Regions from separate parts of the Homo sapiens genome. Here all the other regions are linked to region 7. Evidence: promoter capture Hi-C in 16 types of primary human blood cells and fetal thymus (Javierre and others, 2016). All regions are on one chromosome and are shown on one strand. The core of a region is centred on a gene start or on the middle of the fragment in contact, and the rest is flanking DNA. Distances in the headings are between cores, read along the strand shown. Region 1 overlaps COBL (cordon-bleu WH2 repeat protein). Region 2 overlaps COBL (cordon-bleu WH2 repeat protein). Region 3 has its middle 210 kb from the start of GRB10. Region 4 overlaps SPMIP7 (sperm microtubule inner protein 7). Region 5 overlaps COBL (cordon-bleu WH2 repeat protein). Region 6 overlaps SPMIP7 (sperm microtubule inner protein 7). Region 7 holds the start of DDC (dopa decarboxylase).

The links. The method cuts DNA at HindIII sites, captures the fragments that hold promoters and counts their contacts. A CHiCAGO score of 5 or more calls a contact.
Region 1: a fragment that was not itself captured here is called in contact with the fragment with the promoter of DDC in region 7 in 2 of 17 cell types (erythroblasts and megakaryocytes); the score reaches 5.8 in erythroblasts.
Region 2: a fragment that was not itself captured here is called in contact with the fragment with the promoter of DDC in region 7 in 2 of 17 cell types (erythroblasts and megakaryocytes); the score reaches 6.1 in erythroblasts.
Region 3: a contact is called between a fragment that was not itself captured here and the fragment with the promoter of DDC in region 7, in 2 of 17 cell types (total CD4 T cells and non-activated CD4 T cells). The highest score is 5.2, in total CD4 T cells.
Region 4: a contact is called between a fragment that was not itself captured here and the fragment with the promoter of DDC in region 7, in 6 of 17 cell types (neutrophils, erythroblasts, non-activated CD4 T cells and 3 more). The highest score is 6.8, in neutrophils.
Region 5: a fragment that was not itself captured here is called in contact with the fragment with the promoter of DDC in region 7 in 5 of 17 cell types (non-activated CD4 T cells, erythroblasts, megakaryocytes and 2 more); the score reaches 7.1 in non-activated CD4 T cells.
Region 6: a fragment that was not itself captured here is called in contact with the fragment with the promoter of DDC in region 7 in 9 of 17 cell types (total CD8 T cells, erythroblasts, naive CD4 T cells and 6 more); the score reaches 8.6 in total CD8 T cells.

Annotation. Positions count from the first base shown.
Region 1 is chr7:51,032,675-51,035,374 of GRCh38, forward strand. The region is part of intron 8 of COBL (cordon-bleu WH2 repeat protein); the gene reads right to left. Among named protein-coding and RNA genes, the nearest start is that of GRB10, 250 kb to the left of the region's middle. The HindIII fragment of the contact is 3,054 bases long and covers 1-2,700 here.
Region 2 is chr7:51,072,811-51,075,510 of GRCh38, forward strand. The region is part of intron 7 of COBL (cordon-bleu WH2 repeat protein); the gene reads right to left. Among named protein-coding and RNA genes, the nearest start is that of COBL, 240 kb to the right of the region's middle. The HindIII fragment of the contact is 4,001 bases long and covers 1-2,700 here.
Region 3 is chr7:50,994,924-50,997,623 of GRCh38, forward strand. No RefSeq gene overlaps it. Among named protein-coding and RNA genes, the nearest start is that of GRB10, 210 kb to the left of the region's middle. The HindIII fragment of the contact is 5,530 bases long and covers 1-2,700 here.
Region 4 is chr7:50,132,870-50,135,569 of GRCh38, forward strand. SPMIP7 (sperm microtubule inner protein 7) reads left to right here. Exons shown (of 9, transcript NM_001161834.3): 4 at 1,239-1,377. Among named protein-coding and RNA genes, the nearest start is that of SPMIP7, 38 kb to the left of the region's middle. The HindIII fragment of the contact is 3,110 bases long and covers 1-2,700 here.
Region 5 is chr7:51,055,703-51,058,402 of GRCh38, forward strand. The region is part of intron 7 of COBL (cordon-bleu WH2 repeat protein); the gene reads right to left. Among named protein-coding and RNA genes, the nearest start is that of COBL, 260 kb to the right of the region's middle. The HindIII fragment of the contact is 2,340 bases long and covers 84-2,423 here.
Region 6 is chr7:50,111,944-50,114,643 of GRCh38, forward strand. The region is part of intron 2 of SPMIP7 (sperm microtubule inner protein 7); the gene reads left to right. Among named protein-coding and RNA genes, the nearest start is that of SPMIP7, 17 kb to the left of the region's middle. The HindIII fragment of the contact is 645 bases long and covers 1,065-1,709 here.
Region 7 is chr7:50,564,155-50,566,854 of GRCh38, forward strand. It overlaps DDC (dopa decarboxylase), which reads right to left and starts at 1,251. Exons shown (of 15, transcript NM_001082971.2): 1 at 1,131-1,251. The HindIII fragment of the contact is 1,002 bases long and covers 416-1,417 here.

The DNA of each region.
Region 1 (2,700 bases), core at 116-2,615, 470 kb after region 7:
CATGTGGACCCATTAATAAGGACCACAAGAGGTGCATGACTGTCTTCCCTATTGCTTTTGCCATGGACTTTAATTATTTGAATGCACTTTACTAAAGTTCTGCTTTTCTCTTTCATGGAATGAGATGGTTTAAATACATTTAAATTTTTAATAAAATATATGGCAGAGAAAAATGGAAATTGCCATATAAAAGAGCAATCTGAAATGGAAAAGAGATTTAAATACTTGGAAAGATGGAAAACTTTTTAAATGCTTGCTCTTAGTTTAGGATGCTTAAAGCCCAGCCAAACAAAATTACAGACATACTTTTACTTCAAAGTATTTGCCTTTATTTTAAAGTATGCTTGATCACGTCACTATGAGACATGGAACATAATGATATCAATAAGAATTAAAAAAAATAATAAGATAAAAACTCCACTGATTCTACCATTTTGCAAAATAGCAAAACAAAACAAAACAAAACAAAAACCCACCCCAAGCTGATGAAGATGTGATGAATCTGACAGACCCACACTTGTTGCTACAGGTTTTAATTGGAAAGCAATGTGGAAATACATATCAAAAAACACACAAACAAAAATCACGTTATCTTTGTAAGAACTTTGGCCCATTAATCTCTTTTTTAATAATCTGCTTTAAGGAAACCCTATAGAAGGAAAAATATAAATACAACAAAGTTCATGTAAGAATTCTAGAAATGTCCAGCACTAGGCAGTTACCTAAATTATTACATATATATTTCAAAGGGCATTAAAATCAGTAAATATGATGATCATTAAGTCTATGTAGAAACACACATCCATGCTTATGTTAGCATGTTATGTGAAGAAATCAGCACACACATATATAGAAACACTGTGATGATTTAAAAATAGCAAATACCTTTGGACAAGGCGGAGACAGAAATCTAACAAGAAACCAACCAGCATGACTTAAGGAAAAGGATGAATTAGGATGAATATTTTACCCTTTTTCTTTAGAACTGTGCTTGGTTGAGTTCAAAGCAGCTTGAGTGACAGAGCAAATTTTTAGCCAGCAAAATTTAAAAGGATAATTTTGTCCTTTAGTGAACAAGAATTCTTTCCTGCAAAGGAGTCTGCATTCTTCTTACACTGCACACAGTAAGCACTTTATTTTGTTACTGAGTGCCTAGCAATCTTAGTGCGTGGCTGTCAGCCTGAAACTGTAACAGAGAGGCTGTACAAGGTCTGAACAGTCTCAGCCCTTCAACACCTTCCTCCTCCCAGGCTCCGGGCTCCCTGCCCTCTAGAAACAGCAGGAGCCCAGCTCCAGGCGCTTGGGGCTGCTTCTGAGCTGGTTTCTCCCCTATCCACCAGTTACAGCTGCCTTTCTGGAGTCTGGGGACCCTGTGCTCAGCCCTAGTCCTTCATCCCTGTGTTTTTTCCTGTCCAGCTCCCTCCCACCACTGGCCTCACTTGGCACTCTATAGAGGTTGCCCCGGACGCTGCTGCTTGGTTCCAGGCAATGCTGGTACCTCTGCATCCCACCTCTGCTCCAGCTTTGCTCCCCCACACTTCAGTGTGGGGCTGGCTCCTTGGGGCCCTGCTTGCCCTGAAAGAAAGAGTGGACATGAGCTAGGAGCTCCCAGCCTGTGTGCACCGTGGAGTGAGGGAAGGTCTGGCCACCACGCAGCCCAGGACCTTGTTTGGTGTTCCTCCTGAGGCTGCCAAGCTCCTGGCATCTCTGAGAGAGGAAAGAGGAGCAGCCTGCTCTTCTTTTGATGCAAAACAGGGCGGCTGTGTTCTGAGCATGTATGAATGGATTATCTAGCAAAAGCCAGAGCCAATGGCAATGTAGTGATTTTACTTTCCAGTGTAAGAAAGCAGGAGGGAGAGACAGCAGTATTTTCCTTCCTTACTAACTCCCATCTACTTCTCTCCAAAGGGTTACTAATGGATTATAAACATTCCTCTCTCTTTGCAAAACCACCAGATTTATGCCCTTAGTCACTGGGCTTGGAGGCCAGTTCCCTGTGGGCTTAGCAGGGGAGCCCTAGGTATGTGTCCCTGAAGAGTTAGCAGTCAGCAAGAAACATCAGCCTCTGTTAGCTTAAAGTAAACCTGCCCAGATGTTTTTCTCCCGGGCTTCCTTCCCCCCCACCAACACATACCTCAATCTTTAGAAACGTTCCTTATTGACAGTTTGTTCTGGCTTAAGATCAAGGAAATAAATGCAAACAAACACAGGGAAGACATTTTGATATCAGGCTGCATGTGTTGAATAAGTATTGCAGTTATTTTCTCACACGGAGTTGGGGACTCTGCAGGGAATGTGAATGTTTAGGCTACTGGGGCATGCAATATGAGGGACACAGCTCAGCACCGGCAAGTTTCAAACCAGAGTCTGCCCAGGAAGTGGACCTGCGTCCTTGGGCCCAGCCTCTTGGGATGGTCGGAGGGTGGCAGGCTGACCGATCCACCCAGCCGGGTGTGTGCAGGGCTTGCTGAGCCTCTGCATTCATACCCCAGCCTCCAGCAAAAACGAGAACTAGGGACAGTCAAATTCAGTTAGTGCCAGGAGCCAAAAGCGCTTTTTGATTTGTTGTTTTCATTTGCTATGAGGGAGAATGGGCTGAATCTGACCAATCCGAAATGTACAAGATGGGTTCATAGCACATGAGGTCACTTTTTCTTTTTGATGAGGCTAGTACAGTGGCAGAATTAATGAAAAAAAAAA
Region 2 (2,700 bases), core at 149-2,648, 510 kb after region 7:
CACAAAGACATTGGGTCCTATGTATCATTGAATGGATAGTATATATAAGTTGTGAGTTCCTAGTAACTACATTTATAGTTCATGTTTTTAGGCACTTAGTTTTACCAGGTAGACAGAAAGTTTCAGTTCTATCCAAATTGACTATACTGGTCAATTTATGGATACAATCTAGTTTTAAGAAAAATTGGCAATAAATTCTGGAACTGAATATCCAATAAGAAAAACATGAATTAATAATGAATTAAAATAAAGCAGAGTTCTTCACAGGAACATTTCCAAGTATCAGTGAATTTCAGACAGGTGAATATTATCAACCTAAAATTTGCATATAATTTACCTCCTTCAAAAAAATATAAACCTCAATCAAACAAATCTCTGTTATTAATGCATTTATATGTAAACCCCAAAGGAAGTAAATTCTGGGTATACAATGAGCCCTTTTATCCTGAAAGGAGGAAGAACAACAGGAAAATCAGAGCCAGGGCAGAAGAGACACTGGGAAAGGTCCGAGGTCAGGAAGAGGCCCGTCCATCAGAAGCGCTTGGCCTGAGTAGGGAATGACGCACAGCAATAAACTGCGGGGGGAAAATAAATGGCAAAATGTGAACGCACACTTGCGGTGAAATAAATATCTGCCATTATCATTCATTTTCCAGCCCCTGGAGATTTAACACTGCATAGCAAGCGTTCTATCAGCCAAAGCATATTGTTATTGTTTTCTTCCTTTCCATTTAGTCTTTTTGTATGCCAGCTGTGGAAAGGGCCTATTGATCCAACAGATATGATTCTGCCTCCTGTAAGAACCATATCATAAGCATCACTTCCCTCATGGTTGGTCTTTCAGGTTGCCACATAAAATTATTTGGATTTGGTATGAAACCTAAGGTCCTTACAAGCCGAGACACGAAGCAGCTGGTAGGCAAGTCATTTATTTCTTACCTCTTGAAAAACAGTCTAAGTTACTTGTAGAACTCCAGAGGAAAACAGACCATATGGCTTTGTGATGCCCTCAATTTCAGTGTATCCCATCTTGATAATGGTGACACTGGGCAGGCCCCACATATAAACTTAGAGAATACTGGTTGATTTACTGAGTTGGAGATGGATATCAACTCCAAGTACCTGTGGAGCAAACTCCTCTTGAGTGCTGCTGTTTTCTCTAGTGGGAGACTGACCTGTGGTGCAAAGGGCTATTACATGAGAGTAGCTTTAAATCTCTGAAGGCCTTGGGGGAAAGGGATTAAAATAAAGAAGGGCCATGCCTGAGTGCACATCAGCACCCAAAACCTCCTGAGACAAACAGTTTAGAAGACTATTGTCATAAGAGAATGCCTGATTCATAATCTCTATTTACTTCTTAACTAGTAAAACAAGGTAATGATTTTTTTTTTTTTTTTTTTTTTTGAGACAGAGTCTCGCTCTGTTGCCAGGCTAGAGTGCTGTGGCGCGATCTCGGCTCACTGCAACCTCCAACTCCCTGATTCAAGGGATTCTCCTGCCTTTGCCTCCAGAGTAGCTGGGATTATAGGCATGCACCGCCATGCCTGGCTAATTTTTGTATTTTTAGTAGAGATGGGGTTTCACTATATTGGCCAGGATGGTCTCGATCTCCTGACCTCGTGATCCACCCGCCTCAGCCTCCCAAAGTGCTGGGATTACAGGCGTGAAGGTAATGATATTTAATAACAACTTCAAACCATTGTTGAAAAATCAAGATGTTTATGCCTTATTTCTGGGAAGGACTCAAATTTATATAAACCCAAAGAGAAGTTCTTCAACATGGTTTTTATACGTAACCTGAGTACATGCTACTAGTTAAAGCTCAAGGAAACAAAATACAGTTGTGATTATTTGCATCAGCTTAGGGCTTGAGCACTCATGAAAATCAAAGAAATCTGTTCTCAGGTTTCTTAACTAAATAATATTACTTCTTTTCACCATTTCTATTCATATTTGTTACTACTTTGCAGTGGTATTTTGGTAAATGGTTAGTAACCAGCTCTTTGGAGGAAAAAGGTATAAATAGTTATAATCAGTTTTACTTATATAAAGGATAAGTAGCACAAAATTTATAAGTAATAATAAAATGCATAATACTATTTTTTGTAAATTCTGTATTACCAGTTGATTCTCATAGAATGCTTTCATTAATTTTTCCCAGATTCTTTAACCTGTAGCCAGTCAATTATTACCGTTAACAAAGAAGTATAACTTCAACATGATGGCATCAGACAGTAAGATGAGAATAAAACCAGAAAGATATATGTTGGAATTTTACTCATTTGTCAATCCCATGAATGACTTGGCTGAATTGATCATGGTTTTTGGAAAATGGATGTACAACTCAATTTTTTCTGCTATTCACAATGTATTGGCTACAGATATGACATACTTTTCTATTTAATCTGTATTATTACATTTCCCAATCACTGTCTTATATCTAGACAATTAACAAGACCAATCAATATCTGATTTGTAACATTTGCTAATTCCTATGCTATAAATAGTTTCTTGATGGTTGATTTCCTGCTATTGACATCAGTCACTGAATGCGGTGCTGTGAAGAGATGTGTAGTAGCACACTATGATATATTTTTACTATTCTAAAGCATTAAATCCTACAGATCCGATACATGTAAACAACCTCAAGAACACTGAAATAGTAATGAAATGTACTAAAATAATTAGGAAGTGATGAGT
Region 3 (2,700 bases), core at 54-2,553, 430 kb after region 7:
AAGAGCTTGCGGTCCAGTGAGGAAAGAGCCACATCCTTCAACAGTGACCTGAGTTCTCTGCCCTACCTGTCCCACTGCTCCTATGGAGGCTGGCTTGGGCCGGCATCCTAGCTCCTGCCTTCCTAGGGCCATCTGCCTGTTTGCCTGCTGAGCTTGGCCTTCCTTCTACAGCCTGCACCCTCCCTTCTGTGGGGCACGAAACTGCCCTCAGGATGCTCACTGAGTTTCAGTTCTCCTTTTAGCAATAGAGGCCACTTTTCTTTCCTAGCATTATTGACAGCCTGTTGGTCACCTTTTAAAAATCCTGTAGCCCATGTTCACCTGGGGATGGGAAATGACACCAACCAAGGAAACAAAAGATAACTTTGTCCTTGAAGCTCTGAGGTTGCTTACAGCCACACCCTGCTCTTGCCAGGGAGGACAGAATGAGGGTTCTTGCAGAGAACAGAGCTATGCCGTGTGCCCAAGTTCCAGGAGGCTGGGACTGTGTTTCTCTTCTTTGTTCCAGTGAAGGAGAGTGGATGCTCAGAATGTGTTTGTCGAATAAATGGATGACATAAAGCATAGGCATCGCTGGGGAGAGAACCCACAGTTAGCTTGGCTTTGATGGTCCTTAAAGTGTTCTCGATGTTTATAGATTTATGATAGGGGCCTCTTGTCCAGCTGCTCCTCTCCAACCTGAATATTATGTGATGTATTGTGTATTTTTATTACCACTGTTCTATTTACATTTAGTGAAGATGAATAAGAGTTGACCATTTTATATTCCATGGGGCTAATTAGTAAGAAGTCTGTCTTATCTTTCCTTTTTTTTTTTTTTTGAGGTGGAGTTCCGCTCTCGTCGCCCAGGCTGGAGTGTAATGGCACGATCTTGGCTCACTGCAACCTCCACCTCCCGAGTTCAAGTGATTCTCCTGCCTCAGCCTCCTGAGTAGCTGGGATTACAGGCACGCACCACCATGCCCAGCTAATTTTTGTGCTTTTTGTAGAGACGGGGTTTCACCATGTTAGCAAGGCTGGTCTCGAACTCCTGGCCTCAGGTGATCCACCCTTCTCGGCCTCCCAAAGTGCTGGGATTACAGGCATGAACCACCACACCTGGCCTCTTATCTCTCCTGATAAGACTATTTCAGTATATGTTTTATTTTATTTATATGAATTTAAGGGGTACAAGTGCAATTTTATTACATGGATGTATTGCATAATGATGAGGTCTGGGCTTTTGGGGTATCCATCACCCAACCACCCAAATAATGTACATTGAACCCATTAAGTAAATTCTCATCATCTACTCCACTCCTGTCTACTTCCCCCTTTTGACTCTCATTCCACACTCTATGTCCATGTGTACATGTTATTTAGCTCTCACTTATAAGTGAGAACATGTGACATTTGCCTTTCTGTGTCTGAGTGGTTTTACTTAAGATAATGGCCTTCAGTGCTACCCATGTTGCTGCGAAGTCATGCTTTCATTCTTTCTTAGGGCTGAACAGTATTCCATGGTGTATATATATATACATATATATATCATATTTTATTTATCCAGTAGTCTGCTGATAGATACTTAGGTTGATTCCATATCTCTGCTATTGTGAATAGCTCTGTGATAAACATGTGGATGCAAGTATCTTTAAATTTTTTTAATTTTTAATTTTTTTCAACTTTTATTGTCGATTCAGGGTAGTACCTGTCCAGGTGTGTTACCTGGGTATATTGTGTGATGCTTGGGTTTGGCATATAAATGGCCCCATCCCCCAGGTACCTAGCACAGTACCCAACAGTTTTTCAAGCCTTGCTCCCCTCCCTCCCAGTAGTCCCCAGTGTCTATTGTTGCATCTGTACATCTATGAGTCCCCAGTGTTTAGCTCCCACTTACAACTAGGTACCATTTCACCACAGTCAGAATGGCAATTATTAAAAAGTCAAAAAACAACAGATGTTGGCAAAGACTATGGAGAAAGGGGAACATTATACACTGTTGATAGGAATGTAAATTAGTTCAGCCACTGTGGAAAGCAGTTTGGAGATTTCTCAAAGAACTTAAAACAGGGCTACCATTCAACCCAGCAATCCCATTACTGGGTATATATCCAAAAGAAAAACAAATCATTCTATCAAAAAGACACACACACGCTTGTACTTGTTCATTGCAACACTATCCACAATAACAAAGATGTGGAATCAACCCAGGAGCCCATCAAAGTTGGACTGGATAAAGAAAATATGCTACATATACACCATGGAATACTATGCAGCCATTAAAAATAATGAAATTATGTCCTTTGAAGCAACACAGATGCAGCTGGAGGCCATTATCCTAAGTGAATTTATGCAGTAACAGAAAACCTGATATGATTTTTGTAAGATTTTTTTCCACCAGCTTTTAATAAAACAGTTATTTTATTATTTTATTTTATTTTTTTCAAAGGTTTTTTATTTATACTGCACAGTTGGTAATGGGCAGAGAGTGATCTTTGCTACAACAAGGTCCATGGCCTGACTAAAGCAACATTCTTTTACCTCTCAAAGACAGGACACCGATTTCATCTGCTTAAAGTCTCCTCTTGGTTTTCAGCAGCTGCCATCCAACAGTGTTTGCTTTGGAATGCTGGAAAGCAAAGAAAAAAGAATTGCAAAAAAAAAAAAAAAAAATTCAATCATTTTCTTCTAAGGGCAAAGATGGAATGATGCTATGACAAT
Region 4 (2,700 bases), core at 38-2,537, 430 kb before region 7:
TTTCATTCTTGTATCGTAAACACCTAGCACAAGTCTTGAAATATAGTTATCTCTGAACAAATATATGTGGAGGAAGTGAGAATCACTGGTAATTCTTTTAAAAATGACTTTGACTCACAGTGGGATTTTTTTGGAAAGATATGCCTTGTCCATAGAATGGAAAGATCAAGTTTCACACTAAGTGTGAATAGGGCAGGAGAAGGTCTGGGGATCCATCTATCTTGTCAGAATATAGTCTTTAGAATGAGGGTTGTATGGTTTTCACTCAGGATCCAACTGGAATTGATTTCACTGTGTCTGTCATATATGCCTGTGAAAGAACAACTTTCAAAACTCCAAAGATCCCCATATTTGTGTGTGTGTGTTTGTGTGTGTGTGTGTGTGTGTTTAAAATAATTGCATGTCATAGGACGGCTGAAGCCCTTCAACCATGCCAAAAAACTTGTACAATTTGGCTGCATTAGTGTGGAATAGTGGGACTGTTGCTGAATCTTAGGAGGCAGATTATTTTTGCAGGGGAGAGTCCTGACTTTGACCAATAGCTGACCTTAAGCAAAGGAAATCAGTTTTCTAAGCCATAGTTGATTTGTAAATTAATGGTATCCTCTGAAGGTCAAATGAGCATTTTTTTGGAAACTGTAAGATGTATGTAAGTTTTCTACTTCTGTGTGACAGACTGCAGGAATTTAGCAGCTTCTGTTATCTAGCAGTCCTGTAGGTCAGAAGTCTAGGTATGTCCCAACTGGGTTTACTGTTTAGGGTTCCCTAAAGCTGGAATCAAGGTGTCAGATGAGACTTGGTTCTCATCTTCCGGGATCATTCAGGTTGTTGACAGAATTCCATTTATTGTGGCTATAGGACTGACATTTGTTTCTTCAAGGGCAGACAAAGAGCATGTGTTGTTGTTTTGTGTCTCTTTTTTAGAGCTTGCTTGCTTAGGTTGGGCCTATTCAGGAAAATCCCACCTTCTGATTAACTCAAATTCAACCAATTAGGGACCTTTACTACATGTGCCAATCTCTTGGGGCATATAAAATCACATAACACAGGAGTACTACCTCATCATAATCACTTGCTCTGCCTACTGTCCAGGGGAGGTGATTATATATGGTATACACACCAAGGGGCAGGGATCCTCAGGGTCATCTTCGGATTCTCTTATCATAGTATCATATTGTTATAAACTTTACCAATTGAATATGCTTTTCATAAGATGTTCCTATTTAATAACTTCATAGAGCTTATGAAGATGTTCCTTGGGATAAGATGCTACCACCAAAACTTGTTCCAGAAGAAACAACATTGGAAAAAACCGCTGACCCCATCTCACAGTGTTTTACTCTGAAAAGATATAAAGGGGTGCCAGCAATAACTCAGGTCAGCAGACTTCTCTGAACAATAATGTATTTCTCATTGTTATTGAAATGAGTTCTAAAACTTTAAGTCAAAATAATACTTATTTTATTGTTAACAATACCTAAGGAAGTAAATTTATGTAAGATAAGTAAATATATATACACACACACACACACACACGTATGGAGTTGAAATTTCCGTAATCGTGCAAGTTATTGATGACTGCAAATACTTTGATGTTTTCAATATTCAAAACTTTTATTGATTATGTAAAGACTACCTCTTTCTCAAAAGTTATTTGCAATGACTGTGTTTATTTTTGGAATTGCAAGAGAATGAGTAAATAATGAAGAAGACAGAAATAATTTTACCAGATAACCTATGCTGAAGATGGTTCTTCACACAGGATCTAGATCTTAGCTCTGTACTTTTCATGGCAAAAAGAGAAGATCCATAGATTGCTATCTGATGTTGTCACTTATTATGTGATAAAACAAAGCATACCAACTTTTCAGTAGTGACACTCATTCTTTTTATTTCCGAGTGTCAAGAAGAATTTATCACAGGAATTATCATATCTATGCCATAGCCAGATAACTTTTCGTAATGTGTGAATCTGTTTGTATTACTCCACTGATTAAACCCATCCTTTTTTATTTAAAAATAAAATCCACACTCCTTGACGTGACACAGACCCAATTCTCCATTATTTGCCCATGGTTCCCTCCTTAGCTTCATCCCTGCCCCGTTCTCGTCTTCTTACTGTTCCTCTTTATTGCCCAAACATCACCCCACAGTGTACTCTGTCCTTTCTCTGCTGAGCTTCTCTCAAGTCCTCAAGTCTCCCATGCTCGTTTCCAGGTTGTGTGCTTTGCAAAGAGTCTTCCACTGCCTTCATCACTCTCCCTATTTATGCTAGGTGAATCTCAAGAATTCTTCAGGTCTTATTGTAACCCTCACTTTTGACCTCCCAACACTGGATTAGATGTCTCAGCTCTGTGCTTGCGAAGTACCTTCTACTTCCATTGATTCCTTTATCTTTTTGTGCCACTTCTCACGCGTAGGAGTCTGGTTAAGCCCTTGGGCTTTTCCCATAATGAAGTTTTTGAGTACACAAAATCCATAGGATTAAAAAGTAAATCAATTATATTGAAATACAGCTCTTAATATAGATCCCAAGAGGTCCCCTGATGGTAGGTTAAGATGCCTATATTTTCTTGTAAAATTTATTCAGCTTTTACAGAGAAAAATGATAATAAAAGAGGAAAAACATGTCTTTAATATAAAGACTCAAACCTGAGATTTTTCACATAGAAAAAGTGAATTAAAATAAAAATATATATG
Region 5 (2,700 bases), core at 4-2,503, 490 kb after region 7:
GCTTCCTTCGTACCTCCCCCAGAGTTCCTGGCCAGCCGGCTTTCTCCCCTCACTGGGCTGCAGGTGAGAACCACCTACATTTAAGCTTTGTATCCCCATGTAGCTTTCTGTTGTCATCTTACTGAAACCTATTCCCTGCAATAGTTCAAAGACAGCTGTCTCCAACAACAGGCGCTGGAGTTAACGGACGACCAGTTTTAAAAAGTCACATTCAGTCCCTGCTCTCAAAAGGCAGGAGTATTTGCCTTTTTCTAAAATTAGCAGATTCCATTTCCCATCTCAGTGCTCTTCACATGTCTCCTGTTTCATGGGAACTTGTCCCAAAATGCCCTCAACAAAGTTACAAATGTCATTTTTCTTCAGACAGAAGTAGAGCTGAAATAATTACTTGCGGAAACTATAATAGAATAGTTTCAGAAAGACAGAATGAGGAAATTACTTACAAAAATAAAACACATTCCAAATGTTTGTAAACTACGTCAAAAACAAAGAGCAAAGAAACAATATGGGGGGGTGCATGATGAAGTGGGGGCATGAGGAAGAGCAGGGGGAGGAGAGCTGAGCAGGGTAGGGGTGGCACAGCCTGAGTGTGAGCAAATGGGACCCCGAGATGCTGGAGAAAACAGAGGAGAGGCAGCAAAGAGCCTCTACATCCCAGGTGTCAAAAGGCTGTCAAAAGGCTAGTGAGAGGTGCCTGTATCGTCACCGGGGGAAATGAGCCCTCATCAATGGCAGCATTGAAACCTGAGTCTCCAAGGATGACCTGTCTGGTGTCTCTGCATCAGTGCCTCCATCTGCAACCTCAGGGCATCAGTTTCCTGGCCAGCTGGGTTATTTTTGCCTTATTAGTTATTTGTATCAATTGCCTGAAGTTTGGGTCAGATTAAATAGCAAAGACTGTGAAGATGACTAATTTAAACTGTTACCTGGTTCTGGACTAAGGAATAAAACATATCTTTTAATATTGAAAAGATACTCTAATCGGGGCTTGTTCCAAGATGAGTTCTCTTCTGAGTATTTTTAGAAATCACACAATGCTAACATACCATTAAAAGTGAGTGGAGAAAAGCGAAATGACTAATAACTATGCTTGTATACAGTGCTCTCCCAACACACACACACACACACACACACACACACACACACACGGCAAAAACCATCATAGTAGTCCCTCCTTGTTGGAGGTTTTGCTTTCTGCAGTTTGTTACTTGTGATCAACCAAGATATTAAATGAACAATTGCAGAAATAAACACTTGGTCAGTTTTGAATCACGTGTCCTTCTGAGTAGCCTGGTGAAATCTGCCATCCTGTCCTGTCCCACCATGAATGGGAATCTTCCCTTTTTCCAGTGGATCCACACTGTCTCCTCCCCTGCCTGTGAGTCACTTAGCAGTGGTCTTGGTTCTCAGACGGACTGTCTCAAGGTTGCAGAGATTGTGTTCAGGGGCCCTTACTGTACTTAATAATGGCCCAAAGCACAAGAGTACTGATGTTGGCATATTGTTATAATTGTCCTATTTCATTGCTAGTCATTGTTGCTCACTGTGCCTAATGCAGAAATTAAACTTTATCACAGGTATGTATGCATAGGAAAAAAACAGTATATATATATGCGTGCACGCACACACATACACACACACACACACACATATATTCAGTGCTGAGGTTTCAGGCATCCATGGAAGGTCCTGAAACATATCCCCCTGTGAATAAGCAGGGGACTACTATACTTAAAAGGTACTCAAATACAGTAGAGTAGTCAGCATAAAAGCAATGAATAGTAACAAGATTTTTCTCTAGAGCTCCCCTCCCGTAGTCCAGCCTGCCTTGGCACTGTGCGTCTGCTTGTAACAGTGATAAGATCAGCATCAGGGCCCATCATTTTGGGAAACTAGTATAGAATTGTTTCTAGCCTTATCCAAAGTCAACAGACTACACAGCCAGCAAATTAAATGTTTCACACACAAACCACCTGTCTAACTCACAATTATGGTGGCCCAAAATAACTTGGCTTTATTGGCCAGAAAACACTCACCTCAGCAAAACCCACCAACACTCAAAATAACCTACATGAGATGCTGGGGCTCCAGCCTTAGGGTTTCAGGGTCTGTCCCAGGGACTGGAAGTTGGATGCTGTCCCCTTGCGAGGCAGGGACCCCATTTTCCCCTCCATGCCCTGAAAGGATAGATGGCCACACCTCACCTCTTCCATTCCTCTTATTACGGATACCCTCCTATGACCACATTCTACCAGAGTTTTTAAATTAGGATTATTTTAGTTTTTAAAATGAAGTTTGTTTTCTTTTTCTTTCATATAGAAAGTAAGGAAAACACAAACATTTGGAAAGAAAATAATCACTTATCCCCAAGATAACCATGGTTTACATTAGGTTGCTTTTTTTGGTAATCTTTTTTTTTTAGAAGCTTTTTGGATAAACGTAACAAAATTTCTTAAATGTTTGAAGAAAATCAGATACATTGCCCTTCTATGTTTATGTATGCACTTTGTACTCAACAGATTAAAGACACATTTTTCTCCATCTTTTGTGTCAATTTAAACAATTATGGGTACCGTGACTCGCATCTGTAATCCCAGCACTTTGGGAGGCCGAGGTGGGAGGATCACTTGAGCCCAGGAATGTGAGACCAGCCTCAGCAACAAAGCGAGACCCTGTCTGTCTCTACAAAAAGTTTTAAAA
Region 6 (2,700 bases), core at 137-2,636, 450 kb before region 7:
CAACTATTTAGCAGTAAATGAAACATTGTACTACACCACTACAAATTGAATTACATATTTTCAAATAAGCCTTTGAGATTATAAAGGTCTGCCTTCATACAGAAATCCAAAAATTAAATACAAATCAGTGACAAAAAATAATACAAAATTATCTTGGAATAATAATTAAATGGTGCAAAGGAAAAACAGAGAAAACCAAAATTTAACAAAGGACGTTGAATAAAAAATGAAAAAATATTCAAGAGAATGAACATGAGATAAAGAATATTTAAAAGTGTTAAAGAGAAGATGGTTGAAGTGGAAGATAAACAAAGAAGAAACAATATACATATAATTGGAGGTCCTGAAGAGCAAAAACCAAGCAGTGGAACAGAATGTGTTAAACCATGGTTTCTGGACCTTGGCATGGTCAGAATTTTGGGCTTCATAAATCTTTGCTGAAGGAGACTATCCTGTGCAATGTAGGATGATTAGCAACACCCCTGACCTCACCCACTAGATGCCAGTAGCACCCTTCCCAGGTGAAAAGCTACAAAATGAACAGCAAAGTAAATCAAAAGAAAGCACGAAAAGAAAAATAAAAAAATGATAAGCAAAGTAATGAATAAATTAGAGAAGATGAAGTAACGGGCACTCAAGCTACTTTTCTGCTTTAGCCAAATAGAAAACTGGACAAATTATAAAAAATAATCATTTCCAGACACTGGCCAAAGGCACTGAAGGACTGGGATCTCTAAAGAAGGGAAACTAACGATGTGAGCCCTGCAATTACACCAGCTTGCTTCCTGGGGGCAGTTTTTAAGCCACAGCCCAGGAAAGTGAAACCCAAACATAGCTTTACATTCTTGTTGGATTGAGGAGAGAGATTAGAGTTCTGGGAAGCCAAGGAATGTAGAATTTGCAGGGTAAGATAGCAGAGAAGAGGGAGTTATCCGGATGTGGAGGAGCAGTGGGGCTTTGGAGATATGCAAAAGAGATCGCTCAGGTCTTTGGGTACTGATCTATGTAAACATAAAAGGAACTACTAAAGCTAAGGAAAAACCCACTGTAAAGAAGTGGGCATAAGCTTTCCCTGAAACTCAAACAGGACAGGGAACGTTTTATGTCCCCACAAACTAGAATAAAAAACTTTATAGTACATAGGTACATCAGGTCAGATCTTCAAAGGGATATTACCTTTGTAGTCAGGCTTAACTAGTCCAACTTTAAAGATTCCTCTGGACTTTCTCAAATTTTAAAAGCATCCGACTGATTCCAATTACTTTATTTGCTGGAAAAAAAATCCAAAACTTAAGAATAAAACAACTTCCAGCAACCAACCAACAACTTAAAGTCCAAAATAAGTTCTCAGTTTAAAAAATAAAATGAAACTACTTTTCATGCAAAGAAGCAGAAAAATATCACCCAGGGGAAAAATCTGTCAATAATAACAGATCTATGAGTGACAGACATAGAAGACCAAGCAGCTATTGTATTCAAACAGCTATTACAAATCTGTTTCATATGTTCAGATCATAGAGACAGCCACAACCATGATGAGAACAAGGGATGATATGAAGATACAAACGGACTTCTAGACATGAAAAATACATCTGAAGTAAAAGATAAGTTGGTAGTTTTAAGAACAGAGCAGATCTTGCATGATGAAAGATCAGTGAAAATAAAGACATAGCAACATAAACTATTCAAAACGAAAAGAGAGAAAATAAAGCTTCAAAATAAAGCATCAGTTACTGCGGAACGGTATCTAGTAAGAAGTCTAACATACATGCATTGGGGTCTCAGAATAAAAGTGAGCTGAGAAAAAAGATTGGTGACACAATGACACAAATTGTTCCTAACTGATCAAAATTATAAATCTGAAGACACAAGATGTTCAACAAATTTCAATCTGTATAAATTTTTTTTAAAATTATGCCCAAAACACATCAATGACATTGCTGAAAAACAGTGATAAAGATAAAATCTTAAAAACAGCTAGAGAAAAGATATTTACAAAGAAACACATGTAAGAATGACTTCTGGCTTTTTGTCAGTTTCTGCAAGCCAGAAGAAAATAAATGCACATATTTTAAGTAACAAAAACAAATAACAATAAACTAAGAAGATATTAACTAACAATAAAAATATTTAAAATTAGAGGCAAAATAGAAACATTTTTTGTAAAAACAAAGCTGAAAGAATGCACTGCCAGTAGACCTGAAGGAATTTCTTTAGACAGAAGAAAATAATGTATATGAAAATTCAAGTTCACACAATGAAATAAATTGAGGTGAACAGAAATGGTAAACATATGGGTAAATATAAAATACTATTTTTCATCTTGGAGTTCTTTACAGTATCACTGTTTAAAGCAACAATAATAGTAATGTGTTTCAGGTTTATAGCATATAAAAAAGTAAATTGTGTGACAGTAGTATAAGGGACAGCAAAGAAAATGAGCATATGCTGTTTAAATTTTTTTACACTATTTTTGAAATGATATATTATTATCCTGTAAACCCTGGAGTTAAAGATGTATATTGTAAAATATGTATACTATAAATCCTAGAGAGACAGCAACAACAGAAAAGAAAAAAATTTTTAAAGCATATGTAGTAAGTTAATAGGAGATAAAATGAAATTTTAAAATTAAAAAAATTCTTAACTAACTCAAAAGAAAGTAACACAAAAGAAAAATAGAGAAGATAAAACAAATAG
Region 7 (2,700 bases), core at 1-2,500:
TCCCTGGTTTCAAAAATGTCACATATCCACTTTGCCAGGACTTCCAGGGTAGAGTTCTATAGGGTCATCTTCATCCTACACCGCATCCAGATAAGCACAGGGAGCAAGGCTGAATGCTGGAGGGACTTACCCCAGCCATGGGAGCAGCGCTTGTCGCCCTGGACCTACACACTGGATTGCTTGGCTGCCCGACAGCACCAAGTGCAAACGGGCTACATTCACATTTCGTCTCTGCCAGCTGCAAGATCTTATGCCATCCTCCTCCCCTCCTCTGGCTGTTTGCTCACTTGTGAAATGGGGATGTGACTGGAGGTGAAGAAGGCAAACCTTCTAGACAGAGCCCAATGTAAACTGACCACTCAGAAGTAATGGTTTTAACTCACGCATGATGGAGAGCAATGATTTCCATCGATTAAGCTTTGATTCTTATATACTTCCGACAACAGACTTAAAACCAGGAGAACTTCGACTCCTTGAAGTCGATAACCGAACAATTCTCCCAATAGAAATTCCTATCCGCATATGTTTTCAGATGGGAATTGTACTCAGCATGGCAAGTTGGTGGGAAAGATCTTCTAATTCTCCTCAAATCACACTGCATAGGTAGACACCAAATTGACCTCTAAGTAAACTATAACATACACCAAAAGGAGAGAGCCCTGACGGAGCCTCAGATGTTATAAAGGGAAGGGCAGAGTTCACATTTACTAATCACCTCCATAAAATCATGGGATTTAATCCTCACAAGGTAGATACTAAGAAAATCCTCATTTACAGAAGAAACAGAGGCTGGGGGAATAAAATACCCAACACCATCCCTGGTGGTGCATGGAAAAAATAGAATCACATCTGGCCCGCATTTGCTACTGAGCCAGTCATGAAATCATTCCCAGCACCTATCAAACATGTGTCACTGGAGTGACTGTGTGTGCATGGAGAGCCACCAAGTGCACAGCCCCCACTGAACAAAAACCCCTGCCAGCCTGCAGCAGAAGAGAAAGCACCACACAAGCTCCCTCAAGTGAGTTAACCTTTAAGCAAATGTTCAGTAACATGGGGCCAGAGAGTCAAGGTACATGTTGCTGTTTTCCACTACTACAATCTGAGTAGGTATAAAATCAGAGACTTACATGCTGGAAATTCGAATTCCTTACAGGGCTACTCTCCTTGATGGGATTCTCCAACTTTGGGGACTGAAGAGCATGTGGAGAAGCTGCTGAGGCACTCGGCACTGAGACAGTCACTCTTCTTGAAACTCCAAGCCACACGTTTCCCTCTTCTTGCATTTCCAGCCACATGTGCCAGTTAAACATTAATTCCTGATGGTGACAAAGGTCAAGGAAATCTTGAGAAATAGCTCGCCTCTGGGAATCCTGAGAGCACATTCTGAAGAGACTGTTTCATTCCAAATCCTGGAAGCTTGGATCTTTCTTATGTAATTCTACATACATCCCATCTTTTACTAAGCAGCCCTGATTTCAAGTTTGGAGCCCATTAAGTCATCTGATATGTTCCAGCCCTGCACCAGGTGATGCCTGCATTGCACACAGCCTCCTGCCCCTGAAGGCAGCCCCAAAGTAAGCCTGCACTTCCCGGTGCAGCACTCAGCAATATGGGTAAGATTTCCAGGTTCAGATATCAGCAGAACCCAGGAACTCACCTTCCTTCCCCAAACCCATCAAAATCATAGTTGAGATGCATGAAACAATACTCTGAGTGGAATTTGGACAAATTTATAAAAAAACCCCAAAGTCGATAGAATTTTATGAGAGCACAAAGCAGGGCTGAGAAAGCCACATTGAGAAGTTGAGCAGGCACAGCCTGCAGGGATCTTAGGAGCTGGTCTTTCTGGCAGACCCCCAGCAGCTCCAAGCGTGGGGCTCAGTGGGTGTGAAGAGCAGAGTGAGAGTGAGGCTGGCTGCGGGCAGCTCATTAAAGGACTGGAAACAAGGCAGAGAGGGCTGTCACTAGAGCCATTTGTCACAGGCTAGATGCAGGGAAGAGCTCTCCTTGCTCTATCCTAGGGGACTGGAGCAGGCTGGGGCGGGGCACCTAGGGTTCCTATTGTTAGGACTGGAACTGGAGAGAGAAGCAGAGTGACATTGAGGAGTCTCAAAACCTCCACAGGAGCCATTGGAGGAAAGAGGGAAAAGAGAAAGAATGGCAAGTGAGCCCTCCAATGACGCACACCCAAATGCTCCCGCCTGGGGTCTCACAGGAGCTGAGAACCGAAGAAGTGATTGTCCTTGGTAAGGGGAAGAGTGAGGGAAGGGCTCCAAAGAGGGAACAGCCTCTGCAAAGTTACTGAGGATCAAGCTCGGCATCTCCCAGGCCCTGACAGAAGGCCAACTCCTAAGGACCATTCAAAGTAGGGGAGGGGGAGTCTTGCAAGCCACGTTACGTAATTTGTATCCCCCCAACTGTAATAGAAGGCATTGAAGTGTTTCTAGAAAGCAGTAACCTTAGCTTACTTATGGTTTAAGATCACTCTGGCTCTGGGGTAGAAAATGGATCAGAGGGAGATAAGGGTGAAAGGGTTAGACCCTTTAAGTTGGACCACCAATTCCCACCACATTCCTTGGATTTCTGCACTTTCCTGCAAACCAGGAGTGAATTCAAGTGAATCCATTCTAGGAGATGGGCTGGGGGAGGGAGGGGGGGCTTGAGATGAAGAAGCGTGCTAATATTCCCCATAAGTGC